2 separate regions of the Homo sapiens genome follow, and region 2 is linked to region 1. Evidence: promoter capture Hi-C in 16 types of primary human blood cells and fetal thymus (Javierre and others, 2016). All regions are on one chromosome and are shown on one strand. Each heading gives the region's core, a stretch centred on a gene start or on the middle of the fragment in contact. The rest is flanking DNA. Distances are from core to core; before and after follow the strand shown.

What was found. Contacts are between HindIII fragments. The CHiCAGO score rates a contact against its expected background, and 5 or more counts as called.
Region 2: a fragment that was not itself captured here is called in contact with the fragment with the promoter of LNCRI in region 1 in 1 of 17 cell types (naive B cells); the score reaches 5.8 in naive B cells.

The regions. Positions count from the first base shown.
Region 1 is chr7:1,691,889-1,696,530 of GRCh38, forward strand. LNCRI (lncRNA radiation induced regulator of PLK1 and RAD51) reads right to left here and starts at 2,462. Exons shown (of 4, transcript XR_007060188.1): 1 at 2,372-2,462; 2 at 886-2,197; 3 at 408-618; 4 at 18-316. All of the region lies in intron 2 of ELFN1 (extracellular leucine rich repeat and fibronectin type III domain containing 1), which reads left to right. The HindIII fragment of the contact is 12,694 bases long and covers 1-4,642 here.
Region 2 is chr7:2,366,419-2,371,060 of GRCh38, forward strand. It overlaps EIF3B (eukaryotic translation initiation factor 3 subunit B), which reads left to right. Exons shown (of 19, transcript NM_001037283.2): 7 at 1-30; 8 at 107-173; 9 at 581-627; 10 at 3,054-3,264. Among named protein-coding and RNA genes, the nearest start is that of EIF3B, 14 kb to the left of the region's middle. The HindIII fragment of the contact is 4,651 bases long and covers 1-4,128 here.

The sequences.
Region 1 (4,642 bases), core at 1,212-3,711:
AAGGAGATGCCAGGGCATGAAATTGCTGAGGTATTTAAAGGCCGATTCTGCATTCCTGACCAGCAATGTCTGCCTGCCAAGGCCAGCAGTACCAGGCTCCAGGCTGGGCTGGCGCAGTGGTGCTCACGTGCCCAGGATGGCCACGATGGCTGGTGGGCGGGGGAGTGCCGGGCATGAGGGACTCCTTTCATCTCTGAGTGCCATGACCCTCCTGGCATCTGCTATTTCCTGCCTTCGTGACCTTCGACGAGACACTTTTTGCTGCTGGGCCTCAGTTTCTCCACTTTCACTGTGGTCTGTGTGCCAAGTAGCACTCCTATTTTTAGAAGCAGAAGCTGGTTATAAACTGCACAGATCTGTCTGGCCTGCCCTGCCAAGGCCGGATTGCCAGAGGGTTCTGTGAGTACCGATCGTGGCTGCAGGGACGGGCTGGGCTGCGCTGTGGAGTCTGGGCTGAGGGCTGCTCCCTCTGGCCGTCTGGGTCCACTCAGGGCTCACGGCAGTGTAGGGCACACCTCTCTCCCAAGCCTGGGCCGGGAGGGCCTTGCAACAGGCAGAGTAGAGAGGAGTGGGGCTGGGAGCTTAGGGATCTTGAATTGGGGGTGCATCTGCATGGAGCTAGGGAAGAGACAGCCAAGAAAGATCGGGGCTGATCAGCAGAGGCAGGCAACACCGTGGCACTTGAAACATGGAAAATTGCCTTCGTCATGTACGCTAGATGCAGAGGCATAAACAGGGCATACCCAGGGCCAGCGGCCCACCTGCCGGCTGCACCTGCCCCTGGCTGGGTGGAGTGGGAAGGGAGATTTTTGAGGCCCTCCTGGGGCTCCCTCCCCTCAACCTCACCAGCTCCCTGACTCTGCTGTGTGACCTAGGGTCAGTTACCTTACGTCTCTGAGCTTCTATTAATATTTCCTTCATCGGAAACTACGGACGTTTCTTTAATTCCTAGGTCTGAGGACTGTGGAATCAAAGGAGAGAAAGTGAAAGAACGCCCAGTGGGGGCCACATCAGCTTCCGCCTCTATGTACCCTGCAGGGAACGGCAGGGACCTCACAAGGCAGGCCTGGGCCTGCGCCACGCTCTGCCATGTGCTGGCCGGGCTGTTACTCTCTCAGCCTCAGTTTTGTTGTCTGTAAAATGGGCGCAGGTCAGCCTCTCCCTGTGAACAAGGCTGTGAGGATTCAGCCCCAGCTGGGCTGGCCCGTCCTTCACCCTCCTTAAGGGGTGCAGGCCCCCAGGAAGTGACTGCCCATGCAGACCCCTAGTGACCAGATGCTGGGTTCCGCTGGGGTCCTGGTAGTGGGCAGTGCAGGCCCTGGAGATGTTCATGGCCGCGTGGACACCTTAAGAGTCCAGCAGACGTGGGGTTAGGAAGAGAGGATGTACTGGCTGGGGAAAGGAACGCCCATCGGGGCAGCCTCAGAAAGTGCCCGATTCCAAGAGTCTGGGCAGGCGTGGGCTTGGACTGCCCAGTGTGCCTGGACAGCCGTGTACACACACTGGTGTGCCTGAGTAGGTATGTGCACATATGTGTACACATAGGTGACATGGGCTTAGACTGCCTGGTGCACCCAGACAGGTGCGTGCCGCAGGGACAGAGTATACGATGTGTGGTGTGGGGCGTGACCCACTTCCTGGTGCAAGAACACATACACGCCTGTGGACGTAGCCTTGCTGGGTGTGTGCACATCTGCAGAGGGGTCGGTGTACACCGCTGTGTGAACACCTCCGGCGGTGCCCAGTCCGTGTGAACACATGCAGGTGAGCACAGACACATGCGTGCATGCCCTCTGTGTGTCTACAGACAGCTGTGTGCGCCACACTCACCCTCCCGCTCGTCCCCATGGCAACCCCAGAGCAGGTGTCTGGGAGACCCTGATCAGTGCTGACAGACACGGGGTGCGGGACACGTGGGATGGGCCTCCCCAGGGACGGCTGGGCCAATCGGGGTTCCTGGGCAGAGGCTCCAGCAGGAGTGAGAGTGCTTCCTCCTCCCCAGTCCATGCCACCTCCTCCTGCGTGCCGGCAAGGTGGGCAGCACTCGGGAAGCCCCCGTCTGGCTGTGATTCTTGCAGGGCGATTGGAGCAATACAGCCCTGTCTGGCCTGTCCGTGCACCGACGCTTAGAGCTGAACAGCCTTCAGGGCCACAGACTCAGCAGGGAGCGCCCAGTCTGTGGTCCTGGTCTCACTTCCTAGAAAGAGAAACCGAGGCTTGAAGCAGCTCCAGCCAGGGTTCCCCAGCCAGCCCCGGCAGACCCAGGCCCCTCACACTCCACCATGCCCACCTCCATCTGGAAGGAGGCAGGGAGCCCCCAGGTCCCAGGCTTGGGAGGCCGGTGCCGGGCAGGGCTGGGGAATGCCATCACCTTAAACCCACACTGGCCTCCCTGCGGGTGGTTTTCCTGCCTCCCTTTGCCGTTTTGCTGGTTATCAAAGACCTTTGCTGCGAGACCCAGGCCGGCCCAGCCCAGCGCCTCCCATCCTCCTGTGAAGTCATCCGCTCAGTTGGCAGGGTTCCCATGGCAACGGCAGTGATGTCACAAAGAGCTGGAGGAGGATGGCTGGAGGGAGGAGTGGGGTGAGGCTCCGGGAGGGGATTCCTGGCTTCTCCCAGGCCTTCTAGAAAGATAGAGCTCTGGTCCATCAGTCACTCAATAGGCCGGAGCTTATGCCCCTAGAAGCAGATCCCAGGGGTACCCCCCACCTCCCTGAGACAGGAAACCATCTCCTTGAAGGAGTCAGCTCCCCCAGCACCCAGACGCCCACCTGCCCAGGTGCAGAGGCCCTTGCAGGAGCGAGGGTATGAGACAGGAGGCCCTGACACCAAGACGTCACTGTCACCATGCCTGGCCCGCACAGCGGTCCTTTGCCAAACTTAGACTGACTCTGAGGGCTGCTGGCTGCACACCCTCCAGGGTGCATTCGAGACCACCTGTCAGCTGCCCTGCACTTGAGTTTCTTGATCTCCACTGCTATTAATAGTTTAATTCCAGAACCAAAGAAACTGTCTGTTCCACAGAAGTGGGGGACTCTGAGAGTCTCCCTGACCCTGGCTGCCAACAGCAGCCTGTGCCCAGCTGGGACAAATTCCAGCTCCCTGCCCTCCCTGTTGAGTGCTGCAGAGGGGCGTCGGGCGTCGTGCACATGTGCCCATCCCCCTCACTTTGAGTTACGCTGCAGACGGCTCCGGATGCACGTGGCTGTGCCAGGCAGCAGACGTGGCCGACAGGCACATGGTGGGACCTGCTCTGTGGCTCCAGAGCTCATGCGCAGCCCGCTGGGGCTGTGAGGGTTCTGTCCATCCACCAGGAAGGCCACCAGGACCCTGCTCCTGCCTGAGAACCCCAGGAAGTAGTAGCGTGCCAGGTGCGTGGCCGGCCTCCCAGCCCTTCCCAGCACCAGCTGCGTCCTCCTCCTCCAGGGCTGCAGCTCAGGGCTCAGGTGTCCGCGTCGAGGGCACTCCCTAAAGGGCAGGAGCAGGACCATTGGCACAAGCCTGGGCGAGTCTCGCTGGGAGGCAGGAGCAGACTCAGCCCGCCAAGCCCATGAACCCCACTTTGAAAACTGTGCAGCCGTGCGCGGCCACTCACACCTGTAATTCCAGCACTTTGGGAGGCTGAGGCGGGCAGATCACCTGAGGCCAGGAGTTCAAGACAAGCCTGGCCAACATGGAGAAACCCCGTCTCTACTAAAAAATACAAAAATTAGCCGGGCGTTGTGGTGGACACCTGTAATCCCAGTTACTTGGGAGGCTGAGGCAGGGAGAATTGTTTGAACCCAGGAGGTGGAGGTTGCAGTGAGCCGAGATCGCGCCACTGCACTGCAGCCTGGGTGACAGAGCGAGACTCCGTGTCAAAAAAAAAAAAAAAAAAAAAAAAACCGTGCTGGTTTGGTTTCACTGACTCCCATTCATTTATTCACAAACATTTACTCAGCAAATCTTGTTGGGCCCGCCAGGCCCTAGGGTTACCAGACAAAGTCTGTTTCCTCCTGGAGTGTGCATTTATTAAATACCTACTGTATGCCGAGCCCCAGGCTGGTTTAGATGTGGGGGCACAGCAGTGAGCAGGGCAGACCTGACTCCTGCCTGCCTTTGTCGGCCCCGGCTCTCATAACAAAAGCGGGACACTGGAGTCTAGACAGCAGCACACATTGTCTCCCCGCCCTGAGACTGGAAGTCTGGGATCGGGTGCCAGCGGGGTTGGTTCTAGGAGGGCCAGTGTCCTGGTTTGCAGATGGCTACCTTCTCACCGTGTCCTCCCAAGACAGAGAGAGAGAGAGAGTGTGTGTGTGTGTGTGTGCGTGTGTATGTGAGAGAGAGAGGGAGAAAGAAAGAGACAGAGGGAGAGAGAGAGAAAGAGGGTGAGAGGGAGAGAAAGAGATGGAGAGAGAGAGAGAGAGAGGGAGAGAGAAAGAGGGAGGGAGAGATGGAGAGAGAGAGGGAAAGAGAGACAGGGAGAGAGAGGGCATGCAGATGCCCTGGTGTCTTTCTTTCTTTCTTTTTTTTTTTTTTTTCCAGAGATGGTCTCCCTCTGTCACCCGGGCTGGAGTGCAGTGACACAATCACAGATCACTGCAGCCTCCACCTCCTGGGCTCAAGCCATCCTCCCACCTCAGGTTCCATAGTAGCTGGGACC
Region 2 (4,642 bases), core at 553-3,052, 670 kb after region 1:
TGAGAGCTCAGCCCATTGGCCTATTTTTAAGTAAGTGGACCATTGTAACGAGCTCTGTAGCCTTTGTCTTTTCATGGGAATACCCTGGCACTTTTGTTTTTCTTAGGTGGAGCCATGATGGCAAATTCTTTGCCAGAATGACCCTGGATACGCTTAGCATCTATGAAACTCCTGTAAGTGGCCTCAGTGATGGCAAACGCCCCGTCCGGTCCTTGCTTGTAACCGGGGTGTGGTGCCTTTCCTTATTTGTGCTAGAAGAGGAGGAGGAGGTTTCACAGATGCATAGGAAAGGCCTGTCTCCTGTGCCTTTTTAACTGCCCCTGCTCTGGGCAGAGCTCTTCAGTCACTCCTGCCCACCTGGCGCAGCCGTGGGAAGTCCTGGATGGGAGTTAATGCAGTGGGCTTCAGAACTGCAGTTCTGGGTGGCGGGTGGGTGGATGGGTTCACTGTCACGCTCTGTGTGCACTGCCCCCTAGGCAAACTCACATCAGACTCTTGTTTCCTTTTGTAAAAAGTTAGGTGTGTTTCTGAGACACTGACATGATTTGACTCAACTGCAGCCTTCCTTTTTTTTGGGCAGTCTATGGGTCTTTTGGACAAGAAGAGTTTGAAGATCTCTGGGATAAAGTGAGTATTCTTATCAGTTTGGTGTCTTAGTGTGTTCAGGCTGCTTAACACAATACCAAAAAAAAAAAAAAAAACACAATACCATAGGCTGGGTGGCTTATGACAGCTGAGATTTCTTTCTCCCAGTTCTGGAGCTTGGGAGCTTGAGGTCAGGGTGCCTGCAGACTGTCTGGTGACGGCCCACCTCCCTCCTAGTGGACAGCCCCTCGGTCCAGCCTTCCCTGGAGGAAGGCCTCCGTGGCCTGTTCTGTAAAGTCTCTCATCTCATTCCCAAGGGCTTCCCCCTCAGGACCTCCCACCCCCCAAAAGGCCCCACCCCATGCCGTCACCCCAGGGGGTTAGAATTTCACCCTGTGAATCTGGGGGACACAGACGTGGTCCATTGCAGTTGGTTTCCTTTATTTGCTGTCTCTCCTTTAGCACTCAGCTTTTTGTTGTTGTTGTTAGAGACAGAGTCTCGCTCCGTCAGGCTGGAGTGCAGTGATACGATCTTGGCTCGCTGCAACCTCCACCTCCTGGGTTCAAGTGATTCTTCTGCCTCAACCTCCCGAGTAGCTGGGACTACAGGCATGTGCCACCAAGCCCGGCTAATTTTTGTATTTTTAGTAGGGATGGGGTTTCACCATGTTGGCTGGGCTGGTCTCAAACTCCTGACCTTGTGATCTGCCCGCCTCAGCCTCCCAAAGTGCTGAGATTACAGGCGTGAGCCACCATGCCCAGCCTGTCACTCAGTTCTTAACCAGTTGGAGAGAAAACGGTGAGTTTGTTCTTTTTTTAAAATTTTTTTTTTTTTTTTTTTTTTTTTTTTTTTTTTGAGGCAGAGTCTTACTCTGTCTTGCAGGCTGGTGTAGAGTGGCGAGATCTTGGCTCACTGCAATTTCCACCTCCTGGGTTCAAGTGATTCTCCTTGCCTTAGACTCCCAAGTAGCTGGGACTGCAGGTGCCTGCCACCATGCCTAGCTAATTTTTGTATTTTTAGTAGAGATGGGGTTTCACTGTGTTGGCCATGCTGGTCTCAGAACTCCTGACCTCAAGTGATCTGCCCACCTCAGCCTCCCAAAGTGCTGGGATTACTGGCGTGAGCCACCACACCCAGCCATTTTTAAATCTTTTTTGAGACAGAGTCTTACTCTGTTGCCCAGGCTGGAGTACAGTGGCGTGATCTCGGCTGACTGCAGCCTTCACCTCCCAGGTTCAAACGATTCTGGTGCTTCAGTCTCCTGAGTAGCTGGAATTACAGGCGCGCAACCACTACGCCCAGCTAATTTTTTGTATATTTTAGAAGAGTCGGGGTTTCACCATGTTGGCCAGGCTGGTCTCGAACTCCTGACCTCAAGTGATCCGCCTGCCCGCCTCAGCCTCTCAAAGTGCAGGGATTACAGGTGTGAGCCACCGCGCCCGGCCTAAGGTGAGTTTGTTCTGGACACAAGGATGGAGGCTTGAGTCAGTGGGCAGCAAGGCTGCTCAGCATTGGGCCCGCCACCCTTGAGGCACCACTTCAGTGACCCCTTCCCGTGCCTAGAAATGAATTTTCAAGGCCAGAGCCTTGAGTCGGCTTCCTTCCATCTACCTCGTCTTTGATCTAGAAACTGAGGAGGGTGGGGTTTCCAGCCTTTTAAGGAAAAGAGGGGACTCTGCTTAGGTGAAAGGTTTTCCTGGTACTCTTCCATCCGAGGCAGGGTTTGGGGAGCCTTCGGCTCATTTTCACCAGCAAAGAATGGGCACGTTTTTATTTATCGCAAAACTTGGGACTGGTCAGTATCACGGCAGTGAACTTCCAACAATCCAAGGACATTGACGTTTCTTCTTTCGTTTTTACATTCTTGGGCAAAATTATGGCTTATAAAATGAAAAGACCAGGACGTTGGTTCTCAAAAAATGCAAAACAGCACATAGCGTGTATAAAGATGTTTTTCATGTAGGTGAGCTCAGGAGCCGTTCGTTACAGCAGCTCTTCTGTAGAGTAGTTGATAAAGTGGAGGGAGCTGCCCTTGTTCTTGCTCATTCCTTACACTTGATTTGCCATTTTCCCCATTTGCACCTTAATTAATCTTTAGATGACATGTAGCCAGATCCGTCAGCCTAAAACTTATTTGCCTCAAAGCAGCAGTGTGCGGTGTCTTAAGAGTGGGCTGACGGAGCCCAGGCTGGAGTCCATATGAGTCTGTGCGTGATGGTGGGGTTGCTAATATTCTGTCTGCATTCACTCCTTGTCACAGTGAGCACAGTAGTGCCACAGGGTCCTGGCGAGGACCTATGAAGCTGCGCGGCATGCCCAGAGCAGTGGCTGTGCAGAGGGAGCGCTCAGCGTCAGCTGTGACAGCATTGAGCTTCTATATAGCAAATGAGTTGTTCTATTCTCTTCTGCTTTTCAGTTTCGTCATCACTTGGTCTTTGCTTTAACATTTTATTTTCCTGTTCTGCAGAGACTTTTCTTGGTCTCCTGGTGGTAACATAATCGCCTTCTGGGTGCCTGAAGACAAAGATATTCCAGCCAGGGTAACCCTGATGCAGCTCCCTACCAGGCAAGAGATCCGAGTGAGGAACCTGTTCAATGTGGTGGACTGCAAGCTCCATTGGCAGAAGAACGGAGACTACTTGTGTGTGAAAGTAGATAGGACTCCGAAAGGCACCCAGGTATGTAGATTCCCACAGGAACTGACGATTCCTTATCCTGAGCTCTGAAGTGGCCACCGTATTGTTTGGAGGGTGTTAATGGATTTTTTTTTTTTTTTTTTTTTTTTTTTTTTGAGATGGAGTCTCACTCTGTCACCAGGCTGTAGTGCAGGAGTGCGATTTCGGCTCACTGCAGTCTCTGCCTCCTGGTTTCAAATGATTCTTCTGCCTCAGCTTCCCAAGTAGCTGGGACTATAGGCGTCCACCACCACGCTTGGCTAATTTTTGTATTTTTATTAGAGACAGGGTTTCACCATGTTGGCCAGGCTGGTCTTGAACTCCTGACCTTAGGTGATCTGCCCGCCTTGGCCACCCAAAGGGCTGGGATTACAGGCGTGAGCCACCGTGCCTGGCTGAGAATATTATTTTCTTTCTAAGCACAAGGAGTAGTATACTCAAGATTTATTTTTTTATTTTTTTATTTTTGGTGGTTGATCATTTAATATTTATTTTATCAAAAAATTGCCTGAGTTGGCTGGGTGTAGTGGCCCATGCCTGTAATCCCAGCACTTTGGGAGGCCGAGGTGGGCGGATCATGAGGTCAAGAGATTGAGACCATTCTGGCCAACGTGGTGTGAAACCCCATCTCTACTAAAAGTACAATAATTAGCTGGGCGTGGTGGGAGGCTCCTGTAGTCCCAGCTACTCGGGAGGCTGAGGCAGGAGAATCGCTTGAACCCAGGAGGCAGAGCTTGCAGTGAACAGAGCGAGATTGCGCCACTGCACCCCAGCCTGGCGACAGAGCCAGACTGCGTCTCACAAAAAAAAAGAAATTCCTGAGTTTTCCCTCTAATAGAAGTATTCTTCTTTCTTTTATGTTAAGAAAGCTTTAATTGACATGTAGTTCACATGCCTGAAAACACCCCTTTAGAGTGGTGAACTGGTTCAGTGGTTTTTCGTGTGTTCAGAGTTATGCAGCCACCACCACTCATTTCAGAACGTTTTCATCGGCTGGGTGCGGTGGCTCCCCCGGGGTGGGAGGGAGGATAGCTTGAGGCTAGGAGTTTCAGACCAGCCTGGGAAACACAGTGAGACCCCATCTCCACAGATAATTTTTAAAAGATAGGAAAAAGGCCGGGCACGGTGGCTCACGCCTGTAATCCCAGCACTTTGGGAGGCTGAGGCGGGGCATCACAAGGTCAGGAGATCGAGGGTTTAGTAGAAACCCCGTCTCTACTAAAAATGCAAAAAATTAGCCAGGCGTGGTGGCGGGTGCCTGTAGTCCCAGCTACTCGGGAGGCTGAGGCAGGAGAATGGCGTGAACCCGGGAGGCGGAGCTTGCAGTGAGCCGAGATTGCACCACTGCACTCCAGCCTGGGCAACAGAGTGAGACTCCGTC